4 separate regions of the Homo sapiens genome follow, and all the other regions are linked to region 1. The links are contacts of gene promoters, found by promoter capture Hi-C in blood cells and fetal thymus (Javierre and others, 2016). All regions are on one chromosome and are shown on one strand. The core of a region is centred on a gene start or on the middle of the fragment in contact, and the rest is flanking DNA. Distances in the headings are between cores, read along the strand shown.

Region 1 (5,368 bases), core at 1,918-4,417:
TTGGTTTGTTCCAGTGCAATGGGCATATGAACTCGTTGGTCCTGTAACAAACTCTGCTGTTGTAGCATGAAAGCTGCCATAGATAATACATAAATGAACATGTGTAGCTGTATTCCAGTAAAACTTATTTATGTACACTGAAATTTTAGTTTCAGACAATTTTCATGTGTCATGAATTAAAAAAAAAATTCCCACCATTAATAATGTGAAAATGATCATTAGCTCATGGGGTGTATAAAAACACAAGGTGAACTGGAGGTGTGGTTTTGGTGTGTGTTCATCTCTTCCATGGCCCTACAAGTCTCATCATTTGCCAACCTGTTTTATATTGACGTCCTTGTCCACACTCCCACACGATGGGAAGTTGTACTTTGGATCTCACACCCCTGTGTAGTGCAACTTAGGTGCTTGTTCTCATGGAAGGTAACTCCTTATAACTACAGGGAGTGGAGATGCCTTGATACTCCCATGAGCCCATCAATGGGGTCTCCCCTCATCCTGTTCCATGGGCGTAATGACCATTCATGGATCCTAGCTTTTGGCAGGGGGCTCTGCTCCCACTCCCTGTCTTGTGTAGACCTGAGACATTGTCTTCTGTCCCTGAGTGGCTATTTAAACAGCAGCCCCTCTCCTCCTAAGGCCCAAATTCATTTTGACTGGTCCCCATTAGCCTCTTGGTATCAGATCCTGCTCACAGACCTGGCTTTTAGTTCCCTTTACATTTCTAATACCTGGAATTTCCTTTTATTGGATTTGACTTCAGTTTGGAACCAGATGATAGCTTCTGTGTCAACTCGGTCTTACTAGGTGGTCGGAGTTTGGATTTTCTAATTGGATTATAATGAAATGTGCCTATATTAGACATGGTGAGTTTATAGTTTTTCAACCATCAACACATGCCTTTGCTTATTCCCATTTCTTTTATTTTATAAACAACTGTAGGGATAAGATTTTCAAAAAAGGAACCAGAAGAAAACATTATAAAAGCAGAACCAAGAAGGCTGAAGATTTGTTTGGTCCTCTTGGTGGAAAGAACTGAAGCCTGCAACTGTTGTCTCTGCTGAATAAATGGCACAAGGGTTGCTATGGTTTGAATGTTCCCTCAGAAACTCGTGTTGAAACTTAACTGTCAATGTAATGGCATTGGGATGTGAGGTCTTTAAGAGGTGATTAGGCCATGAGAGCTCAGTCCTCCGAGTGGATTAATGCTGTTATCTCCGGAGTGGGTTAGTTATTGTGAGAGTGGTTTCCTGAGAGGCTGAGTTCAGTCCCCTTTTTCTCTCTGTCTAGGAGGCTTGCCTGCTGTCTTGTCTTCTGCCATGGAATGACGCTTGTCAGATGCCACTACGATGCTCTTGGACTTCTCATCTTCAGAAAGCTAGGAAGGTGAACAAATTTGTTCTTTTTTATTATTATTATTTGAGACAGAGTTTCTCTCTGTCGCCCAGGCTGAAATGCAGTGGCGTGATCTTGGCTCACTGCAACTTTCGTCTCCTGGGTTCAAGCAATTCTCCCACCTCAGCCTCCTGAGTAGCTGGGACTACAGGCTCATACCACCATGCAGGGCTAATTTCTGTATTTTTGTTAGAGACAGGGTTTTGCTATGTTGGCCAGGCTGGTCTGAAACTCCTGACCTCAAGTGATCTACGTGCCTCGGCCTCCCAAAGTGCTAGGATTACAGGCATGAGCCACTGCACCTGCCAACTTTTGTTCTTTATAAATTAGCTAGCCTGTAGTATTCTGTTATAGTAGAAGAAAATGGACTAAGACACAATGTTGTGGCTACTGTCAGCTCTGCTCATTCTGGATCCCTCAAGTGTGTGGCTCATGTCACACATGGGACCAGGGTCCTGGTGTTTTATTGTTCCATCCAGGGCTCTATTCTATATATAATCTATCTATCTTTCTTTCTTTCTTTTTCTTTCTTTCTTTCATCTTTCTTTCTTTTTTTTTTAGATGGAGTCTCTCTCTGTTGCCAGGCTGGAGTGCAATGGTGTGATCTTGGCTCATTGCTTTGCAACCTCCACCTCCTGGGTTCAAGTGATTCTCCTGCCTTGGCCTCCCAAGTAGCTGGGATTACAGGCACGTGCCACCATGCCTGGCTATATAATACTTCATCAGATATGGTGGTACAGAAAAGATAAGAAGTTGTGCTCTTACAACAAAAGTTTGAAATATCAGATGATCCAGTAGAGTTCTAAAAGATAGTAAAGATTAGAGGCTGTGGGTATCAAAGATGGGTATCTCTGGGGAAAGAGAAGGAAAGAAATTATATTTTCAGATAGCTATGTCTTAGAGAAGAGTATCTTCTGATGTGCAAGTTGGATTAGAGAGAATGTATAGCTAGTGGAGGGACCAGATGAGAAGCTATTTCAATGGTCCAGGACTATTCTAAAGGTATTTAATATTAACTGGGCAGTTACTATGTTCCAGGCACTGTATCAAGCACTTTACTTACATTAACTCATTTATTTCCTGTGGCAACCCTTTGAGAAAGAATTGTCATGAGTACTCTATTTTACAGATGAGGAGACTGAGGAGGAGAGTGATTTGGCAACATGCCCAAGGTCAGATGATTAATAAATGATGGAGATGAGATTTGAGTTTGTGTGACTTCAGAATCTATGCTGTTGACCATGACCCATATACTGAACTAGGTTAACAGTGTATAACCAGGTGGAGCTTCCCTATAGGAAGTTAGAAAGTAGGATCTGGAGCCCAGGAGAGATATTGGGATATTGGGTTAGAGGAAGAGGTGTGAAGTCATCCGCATGGAGATAACGGTTGAGAAAGACATGGGGAGTGATCACCACAGCTCCTTAAGTAGAGGGTGTTTTATGATTCAAAAGTAGGCAGCCATAGAGAAGGGAAGCTCCTTAGATCGATGAAGTAATCCCAGATAGGAAGAAGAGTGAAAGAGGCAGGGAACAGAGTTTTCTCTGTTGGAGAGGTTTCGTAAACTGGGACTGACTTTCATGAAATTCCGAGTCATGAAATCTCAGGGGGTGACTCAAACATTACGTTCACATTAAATGAAGGCCAACAGATTTTCCTGTTTGTGCTTGGTCCATTCTCAGAAACGTCTCTTGCCACCCTTTCTCTTCTGCTAAGTAAGGCTTAAAATTAGGAAGCATTCTTTAAAAGGCAAAAGAGGAAATAGATGAGTGAGAACACAAAGGAAACTTGGACAAGTAGAAAGTGGATGACCCAGGCTCCGTTACATATACTTGGATTCCAGCTGGGACCTAGATTTGCTGAGGACGGAAGCCAAGGAGACAGGAACATGTGGCTGCTCCCAGCTCTACTCCTTCTCTGCCTCTCAGGTGAGTGGGGCTGTGGCTTTGGGGACTTGGTTTTGCAGGGGGCAGGACAGTAGGTAGAAGAGCTGTCCTGGGTTCAAACCAGAGGTGAAGTGTCCACAGAAAAGGGAAAGATACATCCGTTCATTCACCTGTGCATCCTTCTATACATTCAATCATTCATCCACGGATCCTACAAACACTTACTGAGCACCAGATATGTGCCAGGACTGTTCTGGGTGCTGTAATTAAGAGTAACTTCTGAACTGAGGGAGTCAACTAACTACAATACAATGTGGAAATTACTGTTGTAGAGACTCATTCATGTGGTGATGAGAGTATGCAACAGGAACCCCTCACTTTGCTCTTGGAAGGGTGGGAGATGTCACTGAGGCTTCATTGGAAGTCCATCCTGCAGGATGAATGAGTTGGCTGAGTGGGAAAGGAATAGCTTATGTGCAAGTGTGAGGACATTAAAGACCATGGAGAGTTCAAGAATTAACAATAGTTCTGTTTTGACGAAGCTTAGTGTAAAGGGGTTGGAATGGTTTGTGAGAAATAATTAATGGGCTGGGCGTGGTGGCTCACGCCTGTAATCCCATCACTTTGGGAGGCCAAGGTGGGTGGATCACCTGAGGTCAGGAGTTTGAGACCAGCCTGGCCAACATGGTGAAACCCTGTCTCTACTAAAAATACAAAAATTAGCTGGGCGTGGTGATGCATGCCTGTAGTCCCAGCTACTAGGGAGGCTGAGGCAGGAGGATCGCTTGAACTTGGGAGGCGGAGGTTGCAGTGAGCCGAGATTGCACCACTGCAGCAGTCTGGCCTGGGTGATAGAGTTGAGATCCTGTCTGAAAAAAAAAAATGCCATCCTCAACATCTACCTTAAATCCTTCCCGGAACAAGGTGTGGTGTAAACAAGTAAATGAAACTGTCCTGCAAAGGTTGGACTTCAGAAGAGAAACTCTTATTAATAGACATTCAAAATACAAAACTGCAGGAAAACACATTTGTCTCTGGGGAAATAAATTTAGGCTAAAAATTAGAGGACATTCTTCATGTTTGCAGAATGAATTTTATGGTTGAGTTCCCTCACAAAACATAGAAATTGCCCAATGTAATGACAAGATTCTTTCTAGAAGGGTGAGTGAAAATGACAGCGATTTAAAGGAAGAAGACCAGGTAGGTGACATGGACCCAAACTCGTGGGCTCAAGCAATCCTCCTCTCTTGACCTCCCAAAGCACTGGGATTACAGGCATGAGCCACTGCACTCAACCAATGTTTGCTCATTTTGTATTTGAATTTGCTTCCTTTTTCTTTGCCCTTTCCATCTCTCTTTCCACCCCTATCTCATTCCCCATCCTCAGACTCGCAATGTGACCTGCGCAGGTCCCTCTGAAAATCTTAACTGGGAAAGAGAGATGGAAAGGGCAATTCTAGCAGGGAGGGGAAATGACAAAGAGGAAGGAAGCAAATTCAAATACAAAATAAGCAAACGTTGGTTGAGTGAGGTGGCTCACACCTGTAATCCCAGTGCTTTGGGAGGTCAAAGCAGGAGGAATGCTTCAGCCCAGGAGTTTGAGATCAGCCTGGGCAACATAGCAAGACCCCATTTCTACAAAAAAAGAAAAGTAAAAAATTTAAAAAGAGCAAAACTAGAATTCTATTTATTACACATTTTTATAACCTATAAACACTTCCAAATAGATGATAGAATTTAACCCTCTGAGCAGTTTTGTGACCCAGGCAGGGCAAATAGCATTGACTCCACTTTATAAATAAGATGATGAAGGGAGATCTGATGACATAAGAACTAAGTAGACAAGCTGGAAATGAAGTCCAGATCTGTGTCCTCCACAGAGCTCTTTCCATTGGCCATGGAGGTGTCAAGAATAAGGCTAACCTAGTAATAGTGACAAAATAGCTGACCTCTCTGCCACATCATCTGGTATTTCCATTCTGAACTGATTGCTGTCCAATATTTAGTAGCTCCCATTAACCTCAAGCAACCAGCAAGCACATGTTTCAACAAATGCACCGACGCATTTATATAATTCCATCAATTAT
Region 2 (5,368 bases), core at 1,473-3,972, 330 kb after region 1:
AGCTACTCGGAAGGCTGAGGCAGGAGAATGGCGTGAACCCAGGAGGCAGAGCTTGCAGTGGGCCAAGATCGCGCCACTGCACTCCAGCCTGGGCGAAAGAGCAAGACTCCGTCCCAAAAAAAAAAAAAGGAAAACTACACCGGACAATAAGCAGAATATAGTCTTCTCAAGTGCTCATGGAACATTCTCCAGGATAGACAATATGCTAGGCCATAAAACAAGTCTCAATAAATTTTAAAAGACTGAAATCAGGCCAGGTGTGGTGGTTCATCCCAGCACTTTGGGAGGCCAGCCAAGGCAGGCGGATCCCTTGAGCCCAGGAGTTTAAGACCAGCCTGGGCAGCATGATGAAACCTTGTGACTAAAAAAACTACAAAAATTAGCCGAGTGTGGTGGCACATGCCTGTAGGCTCAGCTACTCGGGAGGCTGGGGTGGAAGAATTGCTCGGGCCCAGGAGGTCGAGGCTGCAATGAGCAGTGATTACACCACTGCACTCCAGCCTGGGCAACAGAGTAAAACTCTGTCTCAAAAAAAAAAAAAAAAAAAGAAAAAGAAAATGATTATAAGGGAATACTGTGAACAATTAAATGTCAACAAACTAGACAACTTGATGAAATGGAAAAGTTCCTAGAAAGACAGAAACTACCAAAAGCAATTAAAGAAGAAACAGAAAATGTGAAGAGGATCTATAACAAATAAACAGACTGAATTGTAACTTTTAAGCTTCCAATAAAGAAAAGCCAGGGACCAGATGGCTTCACTGATGAGTTCTACCAAACATTTCAAGAATTAATAGCGGCCAGGCATGGTGGCTCACGCCAGTAATCCCAGTACTTTGGAAGGCCAAGGAGGGAGGATCACTTGAGGTCAGGAATTTGAGACAAGTCTGGCCAACATAGTGAAACCCTAACTCTACTGAAAAAAGACAAAATTAGCCAGGCGTGGTGGCATGAGCCTGTAGTCCCAGCTACTCAGGAGGCTGAGGCAGGAGAATCACTTGAATCCGAGAGGTGGAGGCTGCAGTGAGCTGAGACTGCACCACTGCACTCCGGCCTGGGCGACAGAGCGAGACTCCATCTCAAAAAAAAAAAAAATTAATATCAATTCTTCACAAACTTCCAGAAGGGAATACTTCCCAACTCATTCTATAAGGCCAGTATTACCCATATCCGTTAGCATGTAGGTTTCCCAGAAACCTCTCCCAAAATAGGGCTCCCCAACGCTCTCATCATCCCTTTATGGCGGCCCCTAGTCAAATATTCTCTGATTTTACTTGAACTATAGTTTTTTAAAACTGTTTATTTTGAGCTAATTTTAGACTTACAGTAGTAACAGGAGACACTGCTGAGGTGTCAGCCAAACCTGCCTCACCCGTGTCTGCAGTTGGTCAGCTATGGGAGGCCCTCACCCCACTTAGTCTTCTGTGGCCGAGCCCAGGCTGCCATGTGGGCTCTGCCCTATAGCAGCAGGATTGGCTCTGACTATGAATCTGGGTCCCGGCCAGGTGTGGTGGCCCACACCTGTAATCCCAGCACTTTGGGAGGCCCAGGTGGGTGAATCACCTGAGGTCAGGAGTGCGAGACCAGCCTGGCCAACATGGTGAAACCCTGTCTCTACTAAAAATAACAAAAAAATTAGCCAGGTGTGGTGGTGGGTGCCTGTAATCTCAGCGACTCGGGAGGCTGAGGCAGGAGAATCACTTGAACCCAGGAGGCGGAGGTTGCAGTGAGCCAAAATTGCACCACTACACTCCAGCCTGGGAAACAAGAGCAAAATTCCATCTAAAAAAAATAAAAATAAAAATAAAAAAGCCTAGGTCCCTCCTTACCTATCTGTCCATTGTAGCAGCCACCCAGGAGTACGTGGGAATCTTTGGGGTTGAACTCCAACGTCACGAGTGGAGACGATGGCTTCAGAGCAAGTTCAGGCTTGTTGGGGTTTTCTATAAAGCACAAAAAAATTATCCCCACCAGGCCCGGAAAGAAAAGGACAGGATCAACCAGTTTCACCCCTTCTGCGGGTGGGTAGCGGGGGCATGGTGGCAGAGGGGGAAGCCTGGAAGCCCCTCCAGTCTTTCCCCAGCCTGCACCCCCTGGTCCACCTTGGCCAGAATCTGGCATTCTTGACCCTAGGGGCTTTGCTGATGGTTTTTATTTTTGGTGAACAGGATTGGGGTGTGCGTATGTGTGTGATAATTATATTTCTAGTCCAGTTCCTAGGTTTGGTGTGAAACGAGGTTTTGATACTAAAGTTTTTACACAAAGTCAACTCTCTGCCGGTTTCTTCCAACCAGGTCTGTGGACTGCAGATAATGACGGAGTCCACCCCATAGGGCTGCTGCCAGAACTCGCTGAGCTGTTGGAATGTCGGGCGTTAGCTCTCTGCCTGGCACCTACATGTTTATTTTAATAATGCTGACAACGAAGGGAAGCTGGAGAGCGTGAAGCCACCACCACCCTGTCCCTGCCTGTGTCTTGCCAGCCCTTCTGTAGACAATGGTTTGTGCTAATAAATGGACACGCTGCCCCTGCAGGCCATGAATTAAAGGCAAGTGTCAGGACAGATGGGACAAAGGCACAAGTTCCATTCCGCCGCCCCTTGAGTCCCTTCTCAGTCTGCTGGGCACTCTGTCTTGTTGTTGCTGTTGAGATAGAGTCTCACTCTGTTGCCCAGGATGGAGTGCAGTGGCATGATCTCGGCTCACTGCAACCTCTGACTCCTGGGTTCAAGCGATTCTCCTGCTTCAGTCTCCCAAGTAGCTGGGATTACAGGCACCCACCATCAAGCACAACTAATTTTTGTATTTTTAGTAGAGACAGGGTTTTATCATGTTAGCCAGGCTGGTCTTGAACTCCTGACTTCAGGTGATCCACCTGCCTTGGCCTCCCAAAGTGCTGGGATTACAGGCATGGGCCACCGAGCCCGGCCTGATATGCTCCTTAGGAGCTAAGAATTGAGATCCCATGGGGTCAGGTCTTCATGCCTCGAACTAAGAATCTGGAATTGGTGGGGGTTTCCTGCTTCTGATTTGACTCTGCTTGGCTCTGCCTGAAACCAGACAAGAGAGGAAGGAGAAGAGTGTGTTCCTCCTCGACTGCGGGCCCTTCCCTTGAGGCACCAACCGCGTGAGTGTCCTTGACCTCCTGCCCCTCCCTCCCGCTCCTCCACTTGTGCTGGTCCCAGCCCTCAGCCCTCCCAGGCCACCAGGACCCCGCTGCTTCTCACCCAGGTCCCAGATGTATGAATCGCTGCTCATGCCCACAGGTGCCCGCTGAAAATCCAAGCAGGAGTATGCCACTGCCAACTTCCTGTTGCCATCGGGGTGCCAGGAGAGGTGTGTGGCAGCCCTCTTGATTTCCTGGGGGTCCCTGCAGGGGAGAGGGAAGAGAGCAGAAGGCTGGATGTGAGGTTCCCCAATTTCTCCCCCTTTTTTTTTTTTTTGTCAGATGGAGTCTTGCTCTGTCCCCCAGGCAGTGGCATAATCTCGGCTCACTGCAACCTCTGCCTCCTGGGTTCAAACAATTCTCCTGCCTCAGCCTCCCGAGTAGCTACGATTACAGGCGCACACCACCACGCCTGGCTAATTTTTGTATTTTTAGTAGAGACAGGTTTTTACCATGTTTCCTAGGCTGGTCTCAAACTCGTGACCTCAGATGATATGCCCACCTGGGCCTCCCAAAGTGCTAAGATTATAGGCGTGAGCCACAGTGCCCGGCCCCTCGGATGATTTCTAATGCATCATCCTGCTCTGGTGGTCCATATACGAGGTTAGAGCCCAGCAGGGCTGGAGGGCAACAGGAAGGGCAGCCTCTGCCCCGCCATGCCCTCTCCTGCACACCCCTTGCTGACAGCCACTGGCCCTGCTTGCACACCATGAGTCAGCCCTGCCTCAGAAAAGAGTTCTTTCTTGCTGTGCTGGGACTGGGCTAGGTACTTCCCAGGCCCCTAAGTCAGTCGTGGTAGTGAAATGAATTCCCCAGAGCTGGGATCTGAGGCAAGTCATTTCCCAAACACCTTTCACACCCCTAGTCCTGCATCACCCAGACCCAAGGTCTGTCCTCTGCCCCAGGTCCACAGGCTTCCCCTCCGCATTTCCCCAGCTGCTCTATTCCAGCCTCCTGCTCATCTCCACTCATCTGATTGGACGGCCTTGCTTTTTTCTTCATGGTCAAAACCGAGGCCACAGAGCATGGTCTTTCTCACTTCCACCCACTTTCTGCAACTCCTTCCACCAGACTTCAAGGCCGAGGAGTCCTTCTTCCCCAGGCTTCTCCCCATCCCTGTTCCCAAGCTCTCCTTCCTATCAGCTTCTTTTGTACACCCTACAAAGGTGCTCTGGGATGGGGTATTCTGTTCCTGGGGCTGCTGCAACGAGGTCCCACAAACTGCGTGGCTTCAAACAACAGAAATTGATTCTATCACAGTTCCGGATGCCAGAAGTCCAAAATCACAGATGTTCTCCTCACATCAGGCATGTAAACATACATCTACACATATATACACACATACACATATGCATATATTTATACACATATACAGATGCTCCTTATCTAATGATGTTGGCTACATCTGATAAACCCATAGTAAGTTGGAAATATCAGGAGCTGAAAATGCATTGAATACACCTAACCTACCCAGCATCACATCTTAGTCCAGCCTATGTGCTCAGAACACTTATATTAGCCTATAGTTGGGCAAAATCACCTAGCACAAAGCTTATTTTATAATAAAGAGGTGAACAGCTCATGTAATTTTCTGAATACTGTACTGAGGGTGGAAAACAGAATGGTTGTATGGGTACTTGAAGTACGGTTTCTCCTGGATTTGCATTGCTTTTGCAGCCTTGCAAAGACAAAAAATGGTTTAAGTTGGGGACTGCCACAAAAAGTGGCACTCTGCACACCCTGTTCTGCACCGGCTTTGTTTTGGTTTGGTTTTCACATACTGAATCCTGGAAATGACTCCATATCAGCACATAAGAAGTTGCACTGCTTTTTTTTTTTTTTTGAGACAGAGTCTTGCTGTATTGCCCAGGCTGCAGTGCAGTGGTGCGATCTCGGCTCACTGCAACCTCCGCCTCCCAGGTTCAAGTGATTCTCCTGCCTCAGCATCCCGAGTAGCTGGGATTACAGGCATGTGCCACCACACCCAGTTAATTTTTGTATTTTTAGTAGAGACGGGGTTTTGCCATGTTGGCCAGGCTAGTCTTGAACTCCTGACCTCAGGTGATGCACCCGCCTTGGCCTCCCAAAGTGCTGGGATTACAGGCGTGAGCCACCATGCCCAGACTGCCCCGCTCGCTTTACCAGGTGCATGGCATTCCGTCGTGTGGGTGTGCCAGAACTGCTAGAACCAGTCCCCTATGGA
Region 3 (5,368 bases), core at 2,331-4,830, 280 kb after region 1:
GCCAGCCTTCTCACCCTGCCCGCTGTGCAGCTGGACCTCAGCTGCCGATGGGTGAGGGTGGGCAAGGTAGAGGAGGCGGCAAGTTCAGCTAGCAAAGCCTGGGCCCACCTGGGCCCCTCCCCTCCTTTTCTTCCCAACTCAGTGCTCCCACTTCCTGTCCAACTGCTTCCTCCAGGAAGACCCCCTAGATTACTACATCCTCCCAGACCCCACTCCCACATTGAGTCTTCAAGCTGTTGCCCAAAAGCAATTCCCAGCTCCTTGGTATGAACTGGGCTCCTGCTAACCCTTACAGCACCTCTGTGCCAACTATAAAAAGGTGCCCCTAGAAACTACCGTCTGTGGCCAGGCACAGTAGCTTACACCTGTAATCCCAGCACTTTGGGAGGCCTAGGCAGGCAGATCACCTGAGGTCGGGAGTTCGAGACCAGCCTGGCCAACATGGTGAAACCTCGTCTCTACTAAAAATACAAAAATTAGCCAGGTGTGGTGGCGGGCACCTGTAATCCCAGCTACTTGGGAGGCTGAGGCAGAAGAATCGCTTGAACCCGGGAGGCAGAGGTTGCAGTAAGCCTAGATCATGCCACTGCACTCCAGCCTGGGCAACAGAGCAAGACTCTGTCTCAAAAAAAAAAAAAAATCTTTACTGTCTGCCTCTCTCTTTATATTAGTAAATTTTTTTTTAAAAAAAGCTTTACTGTCTGTTGGAAAACCATCATAGCAAATATGCAGGTCTACAAGGAAACGGAGCCCATTCCGGGGGTGCAGGCATGACCTCGCAGCCCTACGCCACAGCCCTTAGTGTGCGCCCTGCGCAGCTCATTGCTCACGTGCCTCTCCCTCGTGGGATCCCACCTACTCTTCCAAGGTGGGGTTGGGAAATCGGCTTGTGATCTCTGGTAACTGTCTGAAGCAGAGATCACAACCCCATTTAACAGCTGAATGCTAGGAGGCTCAGAGCTGGTGAGTGCCTAGCTCAACCACCCAGCCAGAAAGAGCCCGATTCTGGATTTGAACACAACATGGCCTGATCCCAGAGCAACGTGAGGCTGGCCGGAGGGGGCTGCCACTCACACAGACCCACAGGCGCACCTTGGATGTGGCGGATGTCACCCCGATCCTGCCGGCCCCGGGCCTGGCCCCGCCCAGTCTGCTCATCAATCTTGCGCTTGAGTCGCTGGATCTCGCCCCGCAGGTCAGCGATGATGCTGGTGTACTGGGCGATGTGGTAGGAGACGTTCAGGAGGTTCTGCTTCACCTGCAGGGAACACGTATGGAGCGGAGGGGATGCAGTCACCCCAGGTGCACTCACCGAGGCCTGCCTGCAGGGCCTTTCTTCCCCCTGCCTCCCCCAGTCTTTCTGGGTGACAGTAATGGCCTCCTTTCCTCCACTTCCACAACCTCCTGTCACACTCACTGCTAGATCTCATCAACCTTCAGTGGCTTCCTAATGCCTGCGGGGAACGTCCTCATTCCTCCACCCGTTGTTGAAGGGCCACCCCCATCTCTCTGATTTTCTCTGGGCTCACCGCTCCTGCATGAACATCCCACTCCAGTTGAAGACCTGTCCTGCTCTCCCCATACCCACCACAGACGCCATCCCCTTCCTGCCTTTGGAACCTGTGCTCTCCCTGCTCCCACCTTTCTGGAATGTCCTCCCAGCCTTCAGGGTCCCACTCACAGTCTCCAGAGAGTTCCACTGGACCCCACCAGGCCACCCCCACCTCCTGTTCCTGTCTTGCCCCAGCACCTACCATTGGCATCATTTACCTGCTATTAGGAATATTCTGAACCATCAATGAGCTGTTTCAAGAATGTGTCTCCCGTCCCCCATTGAGGGGTTGGAATAAAACTTACAGCCCTCAGGGCAGCAGCTGGCAAGTGTTAGGTGTTGGGAGAATGTTCCCTACATGCTATCATACATGAATCCATTCCCACTCCTCCACACACGAACAGGTGGAAATGGATTTCTAAGCGGATGGCAAGGGTTCCGACATGCTTACAGACAGGTGAGGACACGGACTTGGAAACGGGGCAGATCTCATTTCCATCCTCAGCGCCATCACTGGCCAGCTGGGAAGTCACTTAACTTCCTTAAGCCTTGCTGTCCTAATCTGTACATGGGAACCGCAATAATACTGCTGTTTTTTGAGGATCAAAGGAGGTAGCATGTGAAACAGCTCAGAGCAAGTGCTCAATGAAGCTTGCCTCCTGTGATGACCATCATGAAGAGGTGCTTTGGAAATGCAAAGGTCTAAATGAGCATCTGAAGACGAGGAAGGGAAGAGAAGAGGGGATGAGGCAGGGGGAGCACAGTCCTGGGACTGGAGGAAGCGGGGACCCTTGGGAGCTGTCGGCTTCCCGGCAGAGGAGCAGGGTTTGGAGGTGCAGGGAAAGTGTACAGGTGACGATCAACTAGGGAATGAGGCCAGTGCAGCAGTGGCTGGTTCCAGAGAGTGCAGTGGGGTGGCAGGGATCAGCCCGGGGGCTTGAATCTCAGCCCAGGAAGGTGTGTCCTGGTGGACGGTCCAGGGGCCCTCACCCTAGTCTTAATGTTCTTGGCCCGGCCGGCGTAGGTCAGGGTGTTCCGGGACTCCTCGAAGGCACTGCTCGCAGGACTGATGTGAGCGATCATCACTGTGCGGCTGTTTCCTCCCAGAGAGTCCTGGATGGGAGGTGGCTGTGGTCAGTGGGGACTGCCTCCTCAGGCCTTCCTCCTGCCAGGCTGTTCACGATGCCCTCCCTGGCGAGTGCAATCTCTCTGTCTCTTTACACTTAAGGGACCCGGCTGCTGAGCGTCATATGGTGTGAGGCTTGGGAGGAAGAAAGCCCTGCTCCAGCAATTACCAGCTGTGTAACCTTAATAAAGCTCATTCACCTCTTTAGTTCTTTTTTTTTTTTTTTTGAGACAGGGTCTCGATCTGTCATCCAGGCTGGAGTGCAGTGGCGCTGTCTCAGCTCACTGCAACCTCCACCTCCCAGGTCCAAGCAATTCTCGTGCCTCAGCCTCTCGAGTAGCTGGGACTATAGGCGTCTGCCACCATGCCTGGGCAATTTTTGTATTTTTAGTAGAGATGGGGTTTCACCATGGTGGCCAGGCTTGTCTTGAACTCCTGACCTTAAGTGATCCACCTGCCTCGGCCTCCCAAAGTGCTGGGATTCCAGGCGTGAGCCACCACACCCGGCTTTCCTTGCTTTTTAAGGGGGCAGTCCTTTTGCAATTGTCCCCACCTCCCCGGCTTCTAGGTGCAGTCATGACGGCAGCTGCTGGCAATGTTAAGTAAGCGGTGACTCTGATATTAGATCAGGGAGGCCTCTGACTGGATCCTACTTTCAGCACTTACTAGTGTGAGCCCTTAGGAACATTACCTAACTGAGTTGTGCCTCAGTTTCCTCATCTGCAAATGTAATCCCTCAAACTCATAGAGTTGTTGACGAGATCTAAGGAGCTAATAGAGTGAAGTACTGAATTCAAGAGACCAGCCAGGAGTGGGCGCTCAGTGATGCTGCTATAATTTAAGGCCAAGGACACCCCTGCACAAAGGAGGCCACCCCCAAACAGCTGACCTGTGGGGCCATGAGGCTGACTGCCCACCTGCACCCCCAAATCTAGACGGCTCTGACCCACAGCCCTGGGTGGGGGTATCACGTGCTCCTTTTCCTTCCCATTGCCCAGCCTTTGGTTAGGGTCGTCAGATAAAATACAGGATACCCAGTTAAATTTGAATTTCAGATATGCAATTACTTTGTTTTAGCATAAGAATATCCCAAATATTTCATGGGACATATTTACGCTAAAATAAATTTTGCTGTGTATCCTGAGGTTGGAATTTAGCTGGGTGCCCTGTATTTTCATTTGTTTAATCTGGCAGCCTCACCCTTGGTGCCCAGTGCCCAGGCCCAGCTGTGGCTGGTACCTTCAGGAGCCGGGTGAGCTTGCTGTCGCGATAGTTGATGTACTTGTTGCTACCCTTGTCGCTCAGGGCGTTGATGCAGTTGCCCAGTGCCAGCAGTGAGCGGTTGATGTGGGCCCCCTCCTTCATACGCTGCCCACGATTCTGTGTCTAGGGGGCGAGCAAAGGGCACACGTGTGGCCTGATGAGGCAGGGGACTGGGTTTCTCCCCAGCCACCCCACCAATGAATGACCTGGTGATCCTGGGTAATAAACCCCCAAGGACCTTGTGGCCGTCCTCCTGCCAAGGCCACTGAGGGCATTGGAGAAGGTTAAGAGACCCAGAGGCCTCTGAACAAGAGTGATGGGCTGACAGCTTCTGAGGAGGGCTGAGATGGCCGGTTCTCCTCAGGGCAGGTGCCGTGGCACGGCCTGACACACAGTGCCATGGATGAGATGGGAGGGAGGTTGCTTTCCAGGCAGCTCAGCTGGGAGCCGGCAGGACCACTGGTGCTCCAGAGGGTGCTCCAGGGAGCAAGGAGGAAAGTGCGTGCACATGTGCATGGTGGTGGAGGGCAGGTTCTTCTCCTTTTCTTGGGCCTGCAGGAGCATGTCAAAGCCGAGGAGGCCCTGCCTGCAGCTCCCCTTAGGAGGTGGCTCTGCCCAGCCTGGAGAAGCCGGGACCAGCTCGCTCCAGTGGCTGAAGGGCACTCTCTCTCCTCCCAGGCCTCTCCCCTGTGTGCCTTCCAGGAAGCCCCCCAGGCTTTACTGGAAGGGAGGGGTAAGTTTCTTGAACCTGCCCTGTTCGGATCCGACCCCAGATGTTCAAAGACAAAAGACTGCTCATTCTTTCTGGCACTGTCATTTCCCTTGCATTTGTTCCAGTGCCAGCAATGGTGACATCACCCAGCCTCATTGCTCAGGTGACCATAAAACCCCCAAGATTGCCTGCACGAGGGAGCCCAGACCTACACCAGCTGGGTGGTGCTGCCACCAAGGCTGCAGAGCTCGGCAAGCAGGACTTCATGGGAGGGGACAAAGGTGCTGCCACAAAGCCAAGCTTCATGAGAGGGGACAAAGATGCTGCCAGAAATGGGTGACGGGGACCTTCTCCTCTTTGTGATGTGACTGGCTGGGTCCTCTCCCAGGATGTGTCAAGTCCTCCCAGTCAGGGGATGCTTGTCTCTCCCTGCCTCCAACTACTCCTTTGGGCCCATTCATTGTCTTCCTGGATCCCTCCCCTAGGGCAGCCACAGTCTCCTTCCCTGGAGAAACCCCCATCCTCCTTCCCCTTCCCACCAGAGCTCCTTGGCTCTTCCCGGGATGCCCTACCCCATTCCCCCCAACCCTGCTCCTCTGGAACGTTCCTCACTTCCTTAACCCGGGGGTCTCCACTCATCCCCTCCACCTCGCTGCGACATCCTCCCCGCTCCAACTCCTACGAAGCTGAGATGCCAGCGTCCCTGTCCCCACCT
Region 4 (5,368 bases), core at 736-3,235, 260 kb after region 1:
GGATCCTTACGCAGACACTGAGCCTGTTAGTGCAGGGGGCGGGGCGGGGGAAGGAGGAGGAAGGAACTGGTGGGCGGAGGCACCGGGGAAAGAGCTAGAGTAGATGCTGGTGGAGCAAACCAGGGTGCTCTAAGGCGCACAGGCAGGGGAAGGGGTCGGGCTGGGCAGGGGCTTCAGCTTCAGGAGAGACGAGCTGAGGGTGGCATGGGGTTCACAGGTATGTCTATGCCTGGGGGAGCAGGAAGTGAGGAGAAGAGGCAGGATGGCAGGATGGGGGTTCTGGGGGGCTGCCTCGTGCCCCGGGGCACTCTGTGAGCTGGCCTGTGTTCAGCTGGGGTCAAACCTGGGGCTGAGGACTTTGGGGACAGGCAGAAGGACTCAGGGTGCTGACTCTATGAGCATCCAGACTGAAAGGGAAGAGAGTAGGGCACCTCTGTGAGGAGTTGGGGAAGTCGTGCCAGGTAGGAGTGGTAAGGCTGCCACAGACAGGGCTATGATCCCAAGAGGCTCAGGGGACCAGGTGCACAGGGTCAGTCCTGCAGTGGCCATGGTGGGGGAGGTGGAGGCTACCCCCAGGGGCAGGATGGCAGGCAGCCGTGCACAGGGTGGGGCATCCTCTGGGAGCAGCCGGACGAGGCTGCCTGCAGCCGGTGCTGGGAAACCACAGTCCTGCAAGCTGTTGTTTCCCTGGCCCTGGTGAAATGGACCATCCCTCAAGAATATCAATCCCTGGCAAATAAACAACAGCCGTTGCTGGTGTGCACTCAGAAGAGGCCAGACTGGCTCTCCTGCCCTAGAGGAAGAGTGACCAGAGCAGCCCACAAGCAGGTACCCGGGACATGGATGCCCCGTGGACGGTCTCGGGAGGAGAGCTCAGGCCCCCCTGGAATCACCTCCCATGGCCTGTCCTCTGGGAATGCAGCAGAAAATATGGCAGGAAATATAGGGAGCTTCCCAGCTCTGGGAGTTAGATCTCACATCAGAGCCTGGAACTCCCCATCCCAACCCCCCCTCGGATACTCACAGCGCAGGCCCTGCTGCCCCCTGGTGGCCACATCCTGACCCTGCAAGCCTGAAAGTCCCATGGTTTGGCTAGGCACCCTGGGTGGCACAGTGGGACTGGAGACGGAGCTGCCCGCTCAGGGCAGGTCCTCTGGTGGAGTGCTGGGACCCCAGCCCCAGAAAGTGCAAGTAGCACAGATGACGCCCCAGGCCACCACCTCCTTGCAGCAGGAGGCTAGGGGTGAGAGGAGGCTGACCCTCTCTTCAAGGAGCTGCCATGGGTGAGGGGCAAGGAGGGTCCCTGCCAACATTTACCGAGTGCCCACCCTGTCCCTACACTTTGTTTTTTAAATTTTATGTATAGATATAGAGAGAGTTTGGGGCCTCGCTGTGTTGCCGAGGCTGGTCTGGAACTCCAGGCTTCAAGTGGTCCTTCTGCCTTGGCCTCTCAAAGAGCTGGGATTACAGGTGTGAGTCACCATGCCAAGCCCACTTTGTTTCTTTGAGGGATGTACACTTGACTGGAAACCTTAAATATTCTTCAGACGGAACACAAGGGTTTCAACCAAGGCTGTCACACAGGCTACACAGAAAACTAGAGCTCCCTGGATTCAGAGCGAGGAGAGGGAGAGATGGAGGAGGGGGACTGAGTTTGCTACAATGATGCCCCATGCACGTCCTTCCAGCAACTTACCATCCCACCCCATAGAAGGCCTGTTCTGGGAGGCAGCTGGATTCACCTGGCGGAAACTGCTGGAGTCCTTGGATGGCCTTATTCGGAGGTCCCAGCTTCCCCCTGTGACCTGTGGAGACCTCAGCCACCTGGAATGGCTGAGACAAGAATGCTGGCTTTTCTGTGCATGGGACACCATTGATTTGTCTTCCTCAGTATATGCTTCTGTACCCAGGACAGCAGTGATGTCCTGCAGGGAAGTGGGGACCCACTGGATCTTTTGCTCCATGGGCAACATCATAATACTCATTGCTAACAACGCTGGGATCCATGGTTCAAGAGATGGAGCCTGGAGATGTCCAGCTCAGTGGCAGCAGCAGACAGGACAGGGCAACCACGTCATCAGCCAGCACACAGCCTATACAGAGGTGAGAGGCCCCTTCTTGGTGGTGGCGATTCTTTCCTACATGGTGTGGTGTCAGTGACCAGGGTAGGCTGCTAGCCCACGGTGGAAGGGATCCTATCCACTAAGGCAGTCACCTCTGAGCCAGCCTGGGCAAGGTGAAAGATGTTATGAAGACCCAGCCGCACACCTTGACTTTTTTTTTCTTTTCTTTTTGAGACAGAGTCTCGCTCTGTCACCCAGGCTGGAGTGCAATGGTGCTATCTCGGCTCACTGCAACCTCTGCCTCCTGGGTTCCAGTGATTCTCCTGCCTCAGCCTCCCAAGTAGCTGGGATTACAGGTGCCTGCCACCATGCCTGGCTAATTTTTGTATTTTTAGTAGAGACGGGGTTTCACCGTGTTAGCCAGGCTGGTCCTGAGCTCCTGGCCTCAGGTGATATGCCCACCTGGGTCTCCCAAAAATGCTGGGATCACAGGTGTGAGCCACCGCACCCGGCCACACCTTGACCTTTTTGGTCTCTGAAGTCTTCAGCCCTGATCAGTCCAGCCAGAGCCACCAGGCCTGAGCACCAGGGTCTCTCTCTCTCTTTTTTTTCCTTCTGCCTCCCTACCCCTCAAGACAGGGTCTCACTCTGTCACCCAGGCTGTGGTACAGTGGTGTGATCATAGCTCACTGCAGCCTCGAACTCCCAGGCTCAAGTGATCCTCCCATCTCAGCCTCCCAAATAGCTGGCATTACAGGCAAGCACCAACACGCCCAGCTAATTTTCGTATTTTTTGTAGAGACGGTGTTTCGCCATGTTGCCTAGGCTGGTCTCGAGCTCCTGGGCTCATGCAATCCACCTGCCTCGGCCTCCCAGAGTGCTGGGATTACAGATGTGAGCCACCACACCTGGCCAAGGATTCCTTCTTATTTAAGTTTTTGTTTGTTTGAGACAGAGTCTCACCCTGTTGCCCAGGCTGGAGTGCAGGGGTGCAATCTCAGCTCACTGCAACCTCTGCTTCCCGGGTTCAAGCGATTTTCCTGCCTCAGCCTCCCAAGTAGCTGGGATTACAGTCACCAGCCACCAAGCTTGGCTAATATTTGTAGTTTTAGTAGAGACGGGGTTTTACCATGTTGCCCGGGCTGGGCTTGAACTCCTGACCTCAAGTGATCCACCCGCCTCAGCCTCCCAAAGTGCTGGAATTAAAGGTGTGAGACATCATGCCCGGCCTCATATTTACCTTTATGTGCTCCCCTGTGTACACGGGGCCTGGAACTTAAACCCATGATCTCCTGTCCCCAGTCCAAGTGGCCCAGTGACTCAGGGAACCCTAAGTCAGGACAGGAGGCACTACAGATGCAAGGGAGGGTGCCAGGTAGGGCCAGGCTGCGTCTGGAGCCCACCCCTCTGAGGTGTTACCACAGTCCAGTGTCTGATCACCCCCTTTGCAGATTCAGAAACTCTTTATCTGGTCCCAAGCTTGCAAGAGTTTTCCGTTGCTTTTACAGTACTAGAGATTCCTTGTCCAAAGGGATCACTTATCACAATTGGAAAAACTTCCCCAAAAAGACAGCATGGGCTGGACATGGTGGCTCACATCTGTAATCCCAGCACTTTGGGGAGGCCGAGGCGGGCAGATCACGAGGTCAGGAGATCGAGACCATCCTGGCCAACATGGTGAAACCCCGTCTCTACTAAAAATACAACAATTAGCCAGCCACTACAGGTAGTGGGTACCTGTAGTCCCAGCTACTCCGGAGGCAAAGGCAGGAGAATCGCCTGCACCCAGGAGGCAGAGGTTGCAGTGAGCTGAGATCGCACCACTGTACTCCAGCCTGGCGACAGAGTGAGACTCCATCTCAAACAAAACAAAACAAAACAAAACAAAACAAAAACACAACATGGGGTTGTGGAAAGAAAAGTCAAGTAGCCAGGTGCAGTGGTTCATACCTGTGGTCCCAGCTACTTGGAAGGCTGAGGCTGGAGGATTGCTTGAGCCCAGGAATTTGAGGCTGCAGTGAGCTATGACAGTGCCACCACACTCCAGCCTGGGTGAAAGAGTGAGACCCCATATCTAACAACAACAACAACAAAAATCAGAAAAAAGAAAAGTCAAGCACAACTCAGAACTCGAAAAATAAATCCTGCCTCTGAGGTTCCTGGTCATAAGACCTCAGACACATGGCTTGGGCTATAAACACTCCCGTCTGGGGCGGGAAGTAACACTCCTCTCTAGGATGGTGCTGGCTTGTGAATTCATCAGACTTGCCTTCAAGGAATTATGGCGCTCCCAGATCCATGGGGCCAATATATGTGTGTGTGTGTGTGTGTGTGTGTGTGTGTGTGTGTGTGTGTGTGTGTGTATATATATATATATATATATGCAGTGCTGCAGATTCTTCCTCTCAAAGACTTGGCCAAGCACCGTGGCCCACGCCTGTAATCCCAGCACTTTGGGAGGCCAAGGCGGGAGGATCACCTGAGGTGAGGAGATCGAGACCAGCCTGGCCAACATGGTGAAACCTCATCTCTACTAAAAATACAAAAATTAGCTGCACATAGTAGTGCACACCTGTAATCCCAGCTACACAGGAGGCTGAGGCAGGAGAATTGTTTGAACCCAGAAGGTGGAGGTTGCAGTGAGCTGAGATGGCGCCACCGCACTCCAGCCTGGGCGACAGAGCGAGGCTTCATCTCAAAAGAAAAAAAAAAAGGGCTCAGGGCAAATACCTGGCTTCCTCTCTCCCGCCCCAGGACACTCCCCCACACATACATATGCATGTACACATACCACACACACATATCCACAAATATGCATGCACACACACCACGCACATGCATGGACACACACAATACGCACACACATATAAATAGGCACATGCACACACACGCACTGCATACACACATGTGCACATGCATACCATACACACACACACACACACACACACACACACTCCAGCAATGCTCTGTTACGAAAATGAGAGGCCGGGCACGGTGGCTCACGCCTGTAATCCCAGCACTTTGGGAGGCCGAGGCGGTCGGATCACGAGGTCAGGAGATTGAGACCATCCCGGCTAACACGGTAAAACCCCGTCTCTACTGAAAGTACAAAAAATTAGCTGAGCGTGGTGGTGGGCGCCTGTAGTCCCAGCTACTCGGGAGGCTGAGGCAGGAGAATGGTGTGAACCCAGGAGGCAGAGCTTGCAGTGAGCCAAGATTGTGCCACTGCACTCCAGCCTGGGCAATGGTGCAGGACTCCGTCTCAAAAAAAAAGAAAAAAAGAAAATGAGAACAGAGAATGCCTC

The links. The method cuts DNA at HindIII sites, captures the fragments that hold promoters and counts their contacts. A CHiCAGO score of 5 or more calls a contact.
Region 2: a fragment that was not itself captured here is called in contact with the fragment with the promoter of CD300E in region 1 in 4 of 17 cell types (M1 macrophages, megakaryocytes, M0 macrophages and 1 more); the score reaches 7.2 in M1 macrophages.
Region 3: a fragment that was not itself captured here is called in contact with the fragment with the promoter of CD300E in region 1 in 1 of 17 cell types (M2 macrophages); the score reaches 5.0 in M2 macrophages.
Region 4: the fragment with the promoter of GPR142 here is called in contact with the fragment with the promoter of CD300E in region 1 in 3 of 17 cell types (monocytes, M2 macrophages and total CD8 T cells); the score reaches 10.2 in monocytes.

The regions. Positions count from the first base shown.
Region 1 is chr17:74,621,537-74,626,904 of GRCh38, reverse strand. CD300E (CD300e molecule) reads left to right here and starts at 3,167. Exons shown (of 4, transcript NM_181449.3): 1 at 3,167-3,323. The coding sequence starts at 3,284. LOC101928343 (a long non-coding RNA gene) reads right to left here. Exons shown (of 4, transcript NR_158152.1): 4 at 909-1,378. The HindIII fragment of the contact is 4,294 bases long and covers 1-3,825 here.
Region 2 is chr17:74,287,595-74,292,962 of GRCh38, reverse strand. It overlaps DNAI2 (dynein axonemal intermediate chain 2), which reads right to left. Exons shown (of 14, transcript NM_023036.6): 5 at 3,227-3,369; 6 at 1,830-1,943. Among named protein-coding and RNA genes, the nearest start is that of DNAI2, 16 kb to the right of the region's middle. RefSeq lists an enhancer at 3,365-3,865. The HindIII fragment of the contact is 3,992 bases long and covers 727-4,718 here.
Region 3 is chr17:74,345,074-74,350,441 of GRCh38, reverse strand. KIF19 (kinesin family member 19) reads right to left here. Exons shown (of 20, transcript NM_153209.4): 8 at 3,918-4,064; 9 at 2,543-2,665; 10 at 1,093-1,258; 11 at 1-41. Among named protein-coding and RNA genes, the nearest start is that of BTBD17, 14 kb to the left of the region's middle. The HindIII fragment of the contact is 2,750 bases long and covers 2,206-4,955 here.
Region 4 is chr17:74,364,123-74,369,490 of GRCh38, reverse strand. It overlaps GPR142 (G protein-coupled receptor 142), which reads right to left and starts at 1,985. Exons shown (of 4, transcript NM_001331076.1): 1 at 1,697-1,985; 2 at 1-23. RefSeq lists an enhancer at 383-1,371. The HindIII fragment of the contact is 12,679 bases long and covers 1-3,153 here.